Regions from separate parts of the Homo sapiens genome. Here all the other regions are linked to region 3. The links are contacts of gene promoters, found by promoter capture Hi-C in blood cells and fetal thymus (Javierre and others, 2016). All regions are on one chromosome and are shown on one strand. The core of a region is centred on a gene start or on the middle of the fragment in contact, and the rest is flanking DNA. Distances in the headings are between cores, read along the strand shown.

Region 1 (3,888 bases), core at 833-3,332, 190 kb after region 3:
AATCCTAAATCTAGATGAAGACAAGAGTGCAGTAACAGCAGTGATCAGATCTAAAATAACTAATTTAGATGGAATTTAGATCTTAAGAGCTTACACCTCAGAATGAAGCCAAATTATCATGACAGCTTTAAAAAGTTTCCAGGTTCAAGAGGAAGAAAATGTTTAACCTGGAGTTTGACAGCTATAGGTAATAGGCACACTTTAAATGACTGTTTTGAAACTTCAGTGTGCCTAAGAATCATTTCCAAATCCACAAATGCTGCCAATTCCTGGGATCATCCAGAGATTCTGGTTCAGAAGTCTGATATAGGGGCCCTGAATCACTTTTTAAAAATAGTGGGCCAGGTGATTTATCAGCAGGTGGCCCATGGATCACTTGGAGAAGCACTGATTTAACTGTCTATCCAGTCCTGCAAAATCAGTAATAAATCAACTTGCCTAATCTTTTTTCCATAGATTCCACCCGATTTTTCAGCTGTCCAAAGCTAGCAAGGAAACTACTTAATTTTCAAGCAGAAAATTCTAATGAACTATTTCGCTATCACAGGTCTCAAGGAGACAGCAAGGACCAACAGAAGTCATTAATGGCCTAGAGAATTCAGCTGGCTGAATTAAATATTCTATATAGAAATCAAGTGCTCATGTACTTGTGACTTAAGTCCTTTCCTCCACCTTAAGGCATTTCCACTGGCGTCAAGAAGGAGATGCTTGTCGTTTTCTCACTCAAGGGCTTTCCACCTTCCCCATGTTCCTCCCAATCTGCCCCACCCTGCATTCCCCTACCATGGTATTTATAAGCATCATGCCCAGGGGCAAGTTCCCAAAACTTAATTGAAGTGTCCCTCAATAACAAACACCTGCAGAACCAGAAAGTCCATATACCCTCACAGGAACTGAGAAGGACAGAGGGAGAAAGAGATGCAAGTATCTTAAAAAAGATCTCCAATTCTTGTTTAGAATATGATCCCCTTTCAAAAGCAATGCACTGCACTATAGGCATTTTTACTATAAACAGTCCCCTGCAGGCACCTACTTTTCCCCACTTGCATTAGTCAGCTGGCCTTTCTTTTATAAGTATATACTTTTGCCTTGTACAGACAATTTCTGGAAGGCTGAAAGACCAAATAGATCATAACCGAAGGCATGAGTTCAATGGAATGTAGTGGGTTTCTATTGCTTTTTCCTTTTTTAACTTTTAAGCTTTTTTCCTTTTCATGGCATTTGTCTGACTTCCAAAGGGGAAGCTAAAGCCTTTGTAAAGAAACAATATATATGACAAATACCTAAAAATAAAACCACCGCACTATTAATATATTAAATGTCACTATGGATACACAGATACAATATATCTTAACAATACCACTAAACCAAACTCTTACAAAACAAAAATGGTAAGATGAAAAAGGAGTCTTAGATAACTGCCTGCTTGTTTCAAGTAATACTAGATTCGACAAATACCAATGTAACTAGAGAAACCAGCTAAGCTACTGAAACTGGAATAACAGTATATGATCTTCAAACTGCCCTTCAAAAGACATTTCCAAAGTACAGGGACCACTGTTACGCTAGTAGCAATAATTACCATGTAATAATTTCCTAGTATGTGCTACATGCTATGCTACATGCTTCCACATAGAGTGGCCTCCTAACACTTACCCCTAAGCTTATGTTTGAAAATAAATAAGCGGTACTTGCATAAAAGCGGGCATGAGATACATCTGAAGGCACTGCCACGTTGTAAGGCCCCATGGCTCTATATAAACATCTGCTGTGCCGCACCAGCACCCCTTGAGGCCATATTGTATTTTCTGACCAACTAAGGGAGAAAGAAATGCAATGTTAGCATATTGGCAATTACAGATAAGATAGCATCTGGCAAGGCCAGCTGTATTTTTATGGAAGGAATTAAATAATCAAGGCTTCATCTGCCTGAATTCTGAAAATACAGTAATTCCATGGTCAAACTGGAGTAGTTTTAGAAAGGATTTGTTACTTTAACTTCATTGCTATATAGTAAACAGAGGTTGCAAAGAAATATAGTTAACTCAGTGTCAAAGGACTTAAGAGGCTTAGAAGAATGAGCAGACATAAATGTGTAAGCCAGAAAACAGTGTGTAAGCAGGGTGACTGTCATCTCCATCCCAAGTGAGCAGAGTCTACTGGTGGAAATGCTAGAGGGAACAAACAAGAAGAGAAAGCTGATGGTAATAAGAATAGTGGAGAAATTAGCACATTGTCAATCTAGCATGACATTTACTGCAGAATTACATCCCAAAAAACTATAGGAAATCAGTTTGCTTATCACACAATTCAAATACCTCACAACTGTAAGAAGATATACAGTAGAACACAGCGATACATCTCACACACACACACAGACTTTTCACTGCTTTCATGGTTTATTTTTATAGAGGTTTCTCTGGGGGAAAAGAAGTTACAGAAGCAGCAGCTTCATTCTTTCCAGCATAATGGAGTTTGGGTGGGGACAGGGATCTTCAGGTTAAGCTTTTTAAAAAAAAAAAAAAAAATCTAAGTTAATTCATCTCTTCCTGATTTTGGAAAGGTTAGTTTCCTAGGATAAGAACTGGGAGGCAGTTTAGATATGTTATTAAAAAAAAAAAAAAAAATTCTAGCACCCTAAAGCTTTCCCAGTTCAGAAAATGTTCCACCGGCCTTGCTCACACTTACCAGCATTAAAGTGATGATACACCTCATGGCCATGTGCCATCAGTAGCCTGAAGATGTACAGTACTAGTACTGTGGATTGTATTTTCAATTTTTATTGAAATCTGTCCTTTGCCCACAGTCGGGTTTCTTTTCAGCCTGGCCCAATCTCTTTCAGTTCCTGGGCTTGAAGGCCTGTGCTAATCTGTATCAGACATCAAGGCAGATAATTGAAGGGAGAACTCTCAGGGGGAGAGGGAAAGGGAAGGTCACCTCAATCTGTCCCACTTAACTAGGGAAAAATTTCTAGATGAAATTTGTGAAATGTTCAAATTACAAAAGGGGGAAGATGAAGATGGTTTGGGTCTGAAAGAAAAGTATGATGAAGGACTCAGAAGTGACAGAATAAAACGGTCCTAATGTTAGCCATTTTGGATCATAGGAGCCATGTGGAGTAATGACTGATAAGGGGGACACAATGAGAAAAATTCTTCCAAAGAACTCAGTCAGGCACAGTTCTCACTTAAACACAGGAGAAGCAGGGAAATATTCAGTAGAGAGTTTAGAAAGAAAATAATAGTAAAAAAGTACAGGTAAGGAAAATTACTAGAACAAAACTGCATGTATTAGAAAGAAAAAATGAGAGAATCATATTCCAGCTAAGTGTGAGATGAATAGCTAGCAACTACTCAGCTGTGGCAATGAAGATGAGAAGACAAATCTTAAAGTCTTCTAAAAAGAAATAAAATATATGACTCTTTGAATTCGGGCAAAGGGGTAAGATTGAAAGAGAACGCCAAGTGCATTGCTTGGGAGACAAATTACACACACTAGAGTGACTGGGCAGCTGAAAGGTAGAACGCATTTAAGGAGCTGGGGTGGTGGTGGAAATGAGTTAATGTCCCTTGTATTCAGTTTAGCATGATGACAAGCATCCATGTAAGACAAAAACTAAAAATTAAATGTTCAAAGCCAAGAACAAGAATGACATACAAAGCAAATAAACATGATCAGCAGCATGTAGAAAGTGTTACATGGTTTTACCCTCTAGCTTACTCACATGTGCTGTGGAGCATTGCTGTAGGACCCATGTTCCAACTTCTGCCACTTGCCCAGGTGAGCAGCTGATTTATGTAGCAAATCACAGTATTTGGATGGCAACAGTTGCGTGGTGAGCATGACAAAAGCATTGATCCACACCATAATGAGGTGCTCACATGACCA
Region 2 (4,156 bases), core at 154-2,653, 150 kb before region 3:
CTTCTGTATTTTACCTTCAATCATTAGCACTGTACTTTTTTGGACACTTCCCAGGGATTACACTGCATCAGCTTCATATCAATGGAATGAGCTCTGACCCAAACACACTACCATGGAGAACTCCCCGAAGAAGCTGCTGGCCATTTACACACATGGGCTTCTGAGACCCGTTTTTTTTTTTTTAAACCTGACCGTTAAACTTACTCTGGTTGAAAACACTTCTTAGGAAAAATTTATGTCAGTAAATGCCTGTACCCAGCCACATTTTAGGACGACAAATCTTTAATAACCACGAGGTATCTTCAACGTCAATACCGAAAGCAAAGTATTGTCCTCCACATTAATTTGGGGCTCAGCAGCAGTTTACTTCCCTCTACCTTCCAGAAAGTTCACTAGATATTTTCATAAAGCTTTGACAGTCAAAAAGCTCAGTTCCTTTTCTTCATCAGAGGTTGTTTCAGGGATCTGACATCATCAGAGGTAAAGACAGGTCCCTAATGCCAGTAAACCATTTGCCTTTGAGCTTTCTCAGTGTAGGGTCTATGGTTTATTCAACTCTCTGACTCTTGTACCCAACTCATACTGTGGCACAGATAGTAGACCCAAAAGAAGGCTTAACTTGAAGTGAATATATGGATAATTTATCATGAGAAATAGAATATCCAAGAGTATTTACACATCTCAGCTAATCAACATGAGCACTTCTAAGGGAGAAATCCAATTAAGATCAGAAGATAGCCTAGATACAATCAGAAAATATGATCTTAAGAGATTTTAAGAGACATTTTCGTAAAGGTGCAGAATCTCGGTAAATCACCTCATGAGGTATAACATGTAGCAGGAATATATTGGCCGAGCTAATGATATTAATAGTTACAGTTGATAAAAATTTTAATATGGGTCCCAGGAAGATGAAGGAGTGGAAATATACCTTTTCCATTTTTTCAAGTCCCCACATAAAATGGAAAGAAGGACTACATAGCGAAGTAAAAAAAAAAAAAAAAAAAAAAAAAAAAGTTGTTGTTCAATTAGTAAATAAATATTACTCATTTTTTGGTTGTTGTACCAAAAAATGAGTAATATTCATTTACTAATTGAACAACAAGGTACTCCTATAAACCACAACATACACATGGGTAGTGGTGAACCACTAACAGCCAGAAAACCTGTATGGTATTAGCATTTCTTTGGTAGGAAAGATAACAAGCAATTAGGCACCTTCTGACAGATGTAACAACAGAATCCTTTTATCAGTTCATGTCTTCCAGGAAGGAAATCCTGAAAAAAGAGCTAGGAGTGCTACAGAAGGGTGGAACAAAGAGAGAAACTGCTGTGAGTGCAACCAAAATTGAAAAGAATAGGAAAAAAGGAACAAGAATATCTACACCAAAGTAGGGTAGGTGAACAAAGCCAGAAAATCCCAGAGAGCAACTCTATTTTTTTTTTTTTTTTTTAGACTGAGTTTCACTCTTGTCGCCCAGGCTGGAGTACAATGGCACAATCTCGGTTCACTGCAACCTCCGCCTCCCAGGTTCAAGCCATTCTCCTGCCTCAGCCTGCCGAGTAGCTGGGATTACAGGCTCCTGCCACCACACCCAGCTAATTTTTGTATTTTTAGTAGAGATGAGCTTTCACCACATTGGCCAGGCTGGTCTCGAACACCTGACCTCAGATGATCCAGCCGCCTCGGCCTCCCAAAGTGCTGGGATTACAGACGTGAGCCACCGAGCCTGGACAAGTCTCTATATTTTTAACACCACATAAAGGAAGGAGTTCTGTAATATTATGAAAAACTTTCCTGAAACCCACCCTATTCCAAAAGTTCAGGAAAAGTAATTTCACATTGAAAAATGAGCTAAAGAAAAGTATCAAAGTAAAAACTCAAACAAAGTTGGTATTTGAAAAATGACAATAAGAAGCTGAATCTAATACATACACACTTGGGATGGTTCATGCTCGTATCTGAGAATGTATAATCTTTGTTTTTGTTAATACCCTCTCCACACTAATAACCATAGACTATAAAAAATCTTGCACAAAGAGAATATACACAATATTTCCAAGAATTGAACAATGAACCAAGCAGACATACAAGGGTCAGAATTAACAAGAGAGCTAAAATATTCACAGGGTGGCCTTGCCTGACTCTGTTACTTGACATGGTACAGGTGACCTTATTGTCAGCCTAAAAATCCACATTCACTCTTCAAGTCTTAGCTAAAATATCAGTTTACTTTCCCAAGGCAGAGTACAGTCAGGGATTATGAAGGGTCTAGGATTTTACTCTACTTACAAGCTAACAAATTAACCTATTACTGTTCATGGATCCTGGCAGAAGACATGAGATTCCTAGATAGGGACCAAGGACTTCATTACTTACAGCAAAAGTAGTAGCCAAAGCTTCATGTTCATGCCAGTTCCTCACATCCTCCAAGTCTCACAGAAAAAAACAACATTGAGTTAGAGACCATGGCCTACACATGCAGTAGGTTGCTTTACAGGAGAGAAACACTAAACTTGGAGATTCAGCACTTTCACAGTTAGCAAGCCTATTCTTTGGGGGAAGAAGTTACCTAAACCCTCAAGGTTGCATACTGCAAACCCAACCCTGAGAATGGCTTAGGTAGAGATAAATCAGAAGCTTTCATTCTTGGTATACCCAGAAGGAGTATATGGGGATACTCAGGGCCCATGGAAGATTGCATCTTATAAACTTCTTTATTTTTTACTTAGCTTATATCATGTTCTAACTATCCACTTGCATGTCCTTCTTTTCAAGTATACTTAGAATTCCTTAAGGATGAAAACTGTTTTATTTATTTATTTATTTATTTATATTTAACTCCAGCAACTACCTAGCACAGTGTTTAGTACTTAGTAGAAACTCTAAGAAAACAATGGATGTATTGAGTAAACTCTATCATGGTTACAGTGACTTGGCTTTCAAGCACTCTTCTTGATGGGAGGGTACCTACTGGTGGGCATACTCACCCTCAAGTCTTTATTAACTGGTCTACCCCTTATGGCCCAGGCTTTTGGACATACATGTGGAAGTGGGAAACATGGCTCTGACTTCAAGTAGAATATATATATACACACACACATATACATACATATATATAATGCACACACATATATACATGTGTATATATACACACATATACAGCCATATACATATATATGGTTATAAATTCTTAAAATGAAATGCAATCTATATTAATAATAATACAGTCCAGAAATGCCGAGGAATCTTCAAATGGAGAAAAGCAACTGAACTACACTACTTCATCCTGTCTGAGACTCTTTCCACTCCTCTGAATCTTCTTGCAGATTACTAATGCCTTCATCATATTTGCCTCTAGGTTGTGAAGTTGTGCTACTTTGTATTTAACTCTCTACCCGATGCTGTGAAAGTGCACCTTTTCTTTATGTCCAGTGGCACAGTGGGAAAAGACTAGAAATTCAAACATGACTTTACTAAATGCCAAGGCGTATCAAAGGGGAAACAAACAATAACACAGACCTTTATTGGCTTATACAAATAGTAACTTTCTCTCTCTTGCAGGCCCAATTTCATCTTTTAGAGCCTTAGGCAAAAAGGGTGGCCAAGAGTTTCTAGCTTTTAAGACACTGAGCTCTACTTCTTGTAATGCATACCATCCCTTCTTCTGGACTAGAAGTTCCCATGTTTGTAAGAAAAAATTTTGTTATAACGGCTCTTTCTCATACTTTTGGTACCAAGTTTTTCTCATGCTGCCATCTTGATTATTCTTCCACATCTCTCTTCTACTTTTAAGATTTATTACACTGGATCCACCTAGATAATCCAGGATAATCTCCTATTTTAAAGTCAGATGGTTAGTGAACTTAATTTCATCTACAACCTTAATTTCCTTTGGCCATGTAACGACATTTACAAGCTCCACGACTAGAATGCAGACATCTTTGGGAGCCCCTATTTTGTCTGCCATAATACGTTTCTCAAAAAAAAGGAAATCACTGTCAGAAGTTAGGAAATATTAGGGAGGAATGCATCATCTCCACTACTTCTGATGTTTCCTTCCCTGGAGGAGCTCGGTAACTATAATTATGGCATCTCTCTGCTCACAGGAGATGAAATGGTTTATCTTATTGGTAAACTTAGGAAGAGTAAATT
Region 3 (4,401 bases), core at 1-2,500:
TCTATCCACTTCCCCTTAGATTATGTAGTCAAACAGTTCAATCCAGGTCAGTACTTTTTCACAACGTATGTTTTCAATCTGATCAAAGCTATAGGTAGACGAAAGTTATTGCAATTTCATGGGGTTTACAATTTCCATAAAGAACAAACCTGCTCTAGAAGACAAAATTCCAAAAACTTCTGAACTATATCCAATCAAGCATTATCTCCTCTCCCAAGAGAGACCTTCCAGCACTCCCCGCCTGGGTCTCGGGAATAGCCCTCCCTTCTGAATCCCAGTTTCTCAATCCGGACCCTGAATCCTATTCATCCTGATCTCTCCTTGATTTTCTTGCATCTTAAAGGTGTTATTTTCCTTTCTTTAAAAATTTAAAAAAAAAAAAAAAAGCCACAACTCGCCTCCACGCTCAGATTACCATTTTCTTTTTCCTCCTTTTCATCACCAAACGGCTGAGGAGGTCTACCAGTACCCTCACCACCGCCACGTCCCCATCCCTCACCCACTCTGGAACACTTTGCAACAGTGTGCACACCCACCCACTGTTGATAACTACTCTCCTAAGGCTACCAACCCATAGGCCTCTCCTCGATGCAGAGTCCTTTGGACTTTGTCTGTTTTTTTTCAAACCAAGAATTAACAGCCCTTATCTAATGGAAGACAGAACATCAAGGGATACAGATCAACAAACACTGGATGGCTGTCTCCGAAGTCTTTTATAATCCAGGTGACCAACCCCTTTGGAGAAAGGTCAAAGGTCGCCGGCCCCTCGCAGGACTGGGGCTGGTGTCAGCTGATCAGTTTCCCCGTTGAAACGCTGGAGAAGGAGGGTTTCCAGGAAGAAGGGGCTTTTTCAGGTTGATGCACCCGGCGGAGAAGTGCTGGGGGCGACCCCGGAATCGTGACCTGGGGTATGAATGAGCCCTGGATTTTTTCCTACCCGGCAGCACCTCGTCTGGCTCCCCCGGCCCGCAGCAGAGGCGGCGCCGCGCGGAACGCCAGCACCTGAGCCGGTGCCTCCCGCCAGGCTCGGCCTCCGTAGGCCCCCGGCCCGGCCCACCGCTCCGGCTGAGGCGGGACTGCCCCACGGACGCCGCCACGTCATCCCCACGCCCGCCCCGCTACAGCCCTGGGACTGACCCCGGCCGTCGCCCGGCTACCCTCGCACGGCGCCCGTGTCCAGGGAACTGCATTTCCCGGGCGCCGGCGGAGCCAGCGTACTCACCCCGGAGGCGGCCGCGGCGAGCTAGCACTGCCCGCGGAGAGGGGAGAACGCGGAAAGCAGCTCGGGGACCGCCCCAGCCGCCCGGGAGGCGGCTCTTGAGTACGAGCTCCGCCTCCCGCCTTGGCCGGAGAGGCTGGTCCGCCCGGCTCTGCACGCGCCTGGCGCTCCACCCCCGCCAAATCGACCACACCGGGCGCTGGAAGGAGCACCGGGAGGGAAACGGAGGGTTGACGCCTCGGCCTCTGGGTGGCTTTAAAACCCTGTGCCAATAGTAGACTGGGTGCTGAGCGCTTCCCAAATTCCATCCCCTTAAATACTCACAAAGCAGTAGGAAAGAGATAGGGACCCTTCCATTTTACAGAGTGGGAAACTGAGACTTTAGAGAGGCTAATAAACTTAATCACCCTGCGAGATTTCAGCCCTCTCAACTGCAAAAATGATAATAATAATAATAATATTTTTCCCATGTTGCAGGTCTGAGAATATTAAATGATTTTTTTAAATCCGTATTTCTTCAAAGATATTATTACAGAAAGCAAAGACAATTATATTTACACTAAAGATTTGAGTGAAAAATTATGGTAGGCTCTGTTTAGGCAGTCAGGATAGCTAGATTCTCTAATGCAGTCTCCCACTGCACTCACGGGAAAGTAGTAGATTCTCCAAGAACCACACATCCACTCCACCCAAAAAGGAACAAACCATAGCTAGAGCCAGTGCTGGGCTCATTAAGCTTCATAGCAGGAAATCTGAGGCTATACTGAGGCCGCATAGGCCCAATGTAGGCCCTTGGAAGCTGGAAAAGAGGGCCACCTAGTGGCAGTTGAGGATAGGTCAGTGAAATAGGTCAACACTGCTCCTGAACAAGGTCCAGTGTGAAACTTATTTTTTTGTGTTCCCTTTGTAACATGCTGTAAGGGTGTATAACCACATTTAGTGAAAAAGGACATTACTGGATTTCATCCAGTGGCGTTATACAATCAGTTACTTATACCCACATAGTCCCCAGGTCTTGAGCATATGATGCCTGGAAGCATAATATATACCTTTTGCAAGAATCACTCAGCTTTTCCCCTCCCCCTCCCCCTCTCTGTCTCCCTCCCCATCTCCCTCCCCCCTTTGCACGGTCCTCGTCTCCCCTTTGCATGGTCTCCCTCTGATGCCGAGCCGAGGCTGGACTGTACTGCCGCCATCTCGGCTCACGGCAGCCTCCCTGCCTGATTCCCCTGCCTCAGCCTGCCGAGTGCCTGGGATTGCAGGCGCGCACCGCCACACCTGACTGGTTTTCGTATTTTTTGGTGGAGACGGGGTTTCGCCGAGTTGGCCGGGCTGGTCTCCAGCTCCTGACCGCGAGTGGTCTGCCAGCCTCGGCCTCCCGAGGTGCCGGGATTGCAGACGGAGTCTCGCTCACTCAGTGCTCAATGTTGCCCAGGCTGGAGTGCAGTGGCTTGATCTCGGATCGCTACAACCTCCACCTCCCAGCCGCCTGCCTTGGCCTCCCAAAGTGCCGAGATTGCAGCCTCTGCCCTGCTGCCACGCCGTATAGGAAGTGAGGAGCGTCTCTGCCTGGCCGCCCATCATCTGGGATGTGGGGAGCCCCTCTGCCCAGCCGCCCAGTCTGGAAAGTGAGGAGCGCTTCTTCCCGGCCGCCACCCCGTCTAGGAAGTGAGGAGCGTCTCTGCCTGGCCGCCCATCATCTGGGATGTGGGGAGCGCCTCTGCCCCACCACCCCGTCTGAGAGGTGAAGAATGCCTCTGCCCGGCGGCGACCCGTCTAGGAACTGAGGAGTGTCTCTGCCCCGCCGCCACCCCGTCTGGGAGGTGAGGAGCGTCTCTGACTGGCCGCCCTGTCTGAGAAGTGAGGAGCCCCTCCGCCGGGCAGCTGCCTGGTCCGGGAGGTGGGGGGCAGCCGCCCAGCCAGCCGCCCCGCCCGGGAGGTGGGGGGGCAGCCCCCGCCTGGCCAGCCGCCCCGCCCGGCAAGTGGGGGGCAGCCCCCGCCCGGCCAGCCGCCCCGTCCGGGAGGTGGGGGGCGCCTCTGCCCAGCCGCCGCCCCGTCTGGGAGGTGGGGGCCCCTCTGCCCGGCCGCCGCCCCGTCTGGGAGGTGGGGGGCCCCTCTGCCCGGCAGCCCCGTCTGGGAAGTGAGGAGCCCCTCTGCCCGGCCACCACCCTGTCTGGGAGGTGTACCCAACAGCTCATTGAGAACGGGCCATGATGACGATGGCGGTTTTGTCCAATAGAAAAGGGGGAAATGTGGGGAAAAGAAAGAGAGATCAGATTGTTATTGTGTCTGTGTAGAAAGAAGTTGACATAGGAGACTCCATTTTGTTCTGTACTAGGAAAAATTCTTCTGCCTTGGGATGCTGTTAATCTATAACCTTACCCCCAACCCCCTGCTCTCTGAAACATGTGCTGTGTCCACTAAGGGTTAAATGGATTAAGGGCAGTGCAAGATGTGCTTTGTTAAACAGATGCTTGAAGGCAGCGTGCTCGCTAAGAGTCATCACCACTCCCTAATCTCAACTACCCAGGGACACAAACACTGCGGAAGGCGGCAGGGCCCTCTGCCTAGGAAAACCAGAGACCTTTGTTCACATGTTTATCTGCTGACCTTCCCTCCACTATTGTCCTATGACCCTGCCAAATCCCCCTCTCCGAGAAACACCCAAGAATGATCAATAAATACTAAAAAAAAAATAAATTTAAAAAAAAAAAAGAGAATGTAGGCCAACAATAAGCCACAGGATAACATCTCTGTCTGCCCAAATCACATTATGCTGAGGAAGTTTAATAATAAAGGAGAATAATAAAGGAGCCAAGCAAGTTAATCTAAAAAAAAAAAAAAAAAAGAATCACTCAGCTTTTCTATATTTGGTAGCTGGTAGGTTATTAATTGGAGAAGTTGGGTTATTGCTTTCAGTAAGTGTAGGAAAGCAAGTAGCAGTGATATCTACAAAATTAAAGATAGCTTTCCAATCTGCTTTTGAGGTTTTAGGGTGGCTTTCATTTCACAGAGAGGCATTGGCATTAATAAAATTGTTTCCTAGGGGTTTTTTTTTTGGCATCAGTCCAGAAACCCAACAGTTGCTCTAGTTTTTCTTGTTAGAGCATGAGCCTTAGCTAAAGCCATCTATAAATTATGGTCCCATGGATTTCCCAGCAGGAAATATGGAAAAAATAGAA

What was found. The method cuts DNA at HindIII sites, captures the fragments that hold promoters and counts their contacts. A CHiCAGO score of 5 or more calls a contact.
Region 1: a fragment that was not itself captured here is called in contact with the fragment with the promoter of B4GALT4 in region 3 in 1 of 17 cell types (activated CD4 T cells); the score reaches 5.7 in activated CD4 T cells.
Region 2: a contact is called between a fragment that was not itself captured here and the fragment with the promoter of B4GALT4 in region 3, in 1 of 17 cell types (naive CD4 T cells). The highest score is 5.7, in naive CD4 T cells.

Annotation. Positions count from the first base shown.
Region 1 is chr3:119,433,067-119,436,954 of GRCh38, forward strand. It overlaps TMEM39A (transmembrane protein 39A), which reads right to left. Exons shown (of 9, transcript NM_018266.3): 7 at 3,725-3,888; 8 at 1,696-1,816. Among named protein-coding and RNA genes, the nearest start is that of TMEM39A, 29 kb to the right of the region's middle. The HindIII fragment of the contact is 842 bases long and covers 1,662-2,503 here.
Region 2 is chr3:119,093,236-119,097,391 of GRCh38, forward strand. It overlaps a transcript of IGSF11 not described here. Among named protein-coding and RNA genes, the nearest start is that of TEX55, 51 kb to the right of the region's middle. The HindIII fragment of the contact is 1,990 bases long and covers 409-2,398 here.
Region 3 is chr3:119,239,628-119,244,028 of GRCh38, forward strand. B4GALT4 (beta-1,4-galactosyltransferase 4) reads right to left here and starts at 1,251. Exons shown (of 8, transcript NM_003778.4): 1 at 1,223-1,251. The region is part of intron 3 of B4GALT4-AS1 (B4GALT4 antisense RNA 1); the gene reads left to right. RefSeq lists silencers at 938-1,417, 2,068-2,117. The HindIII fragment of the contact is 11,429 bases long and covers 1-1,953 here.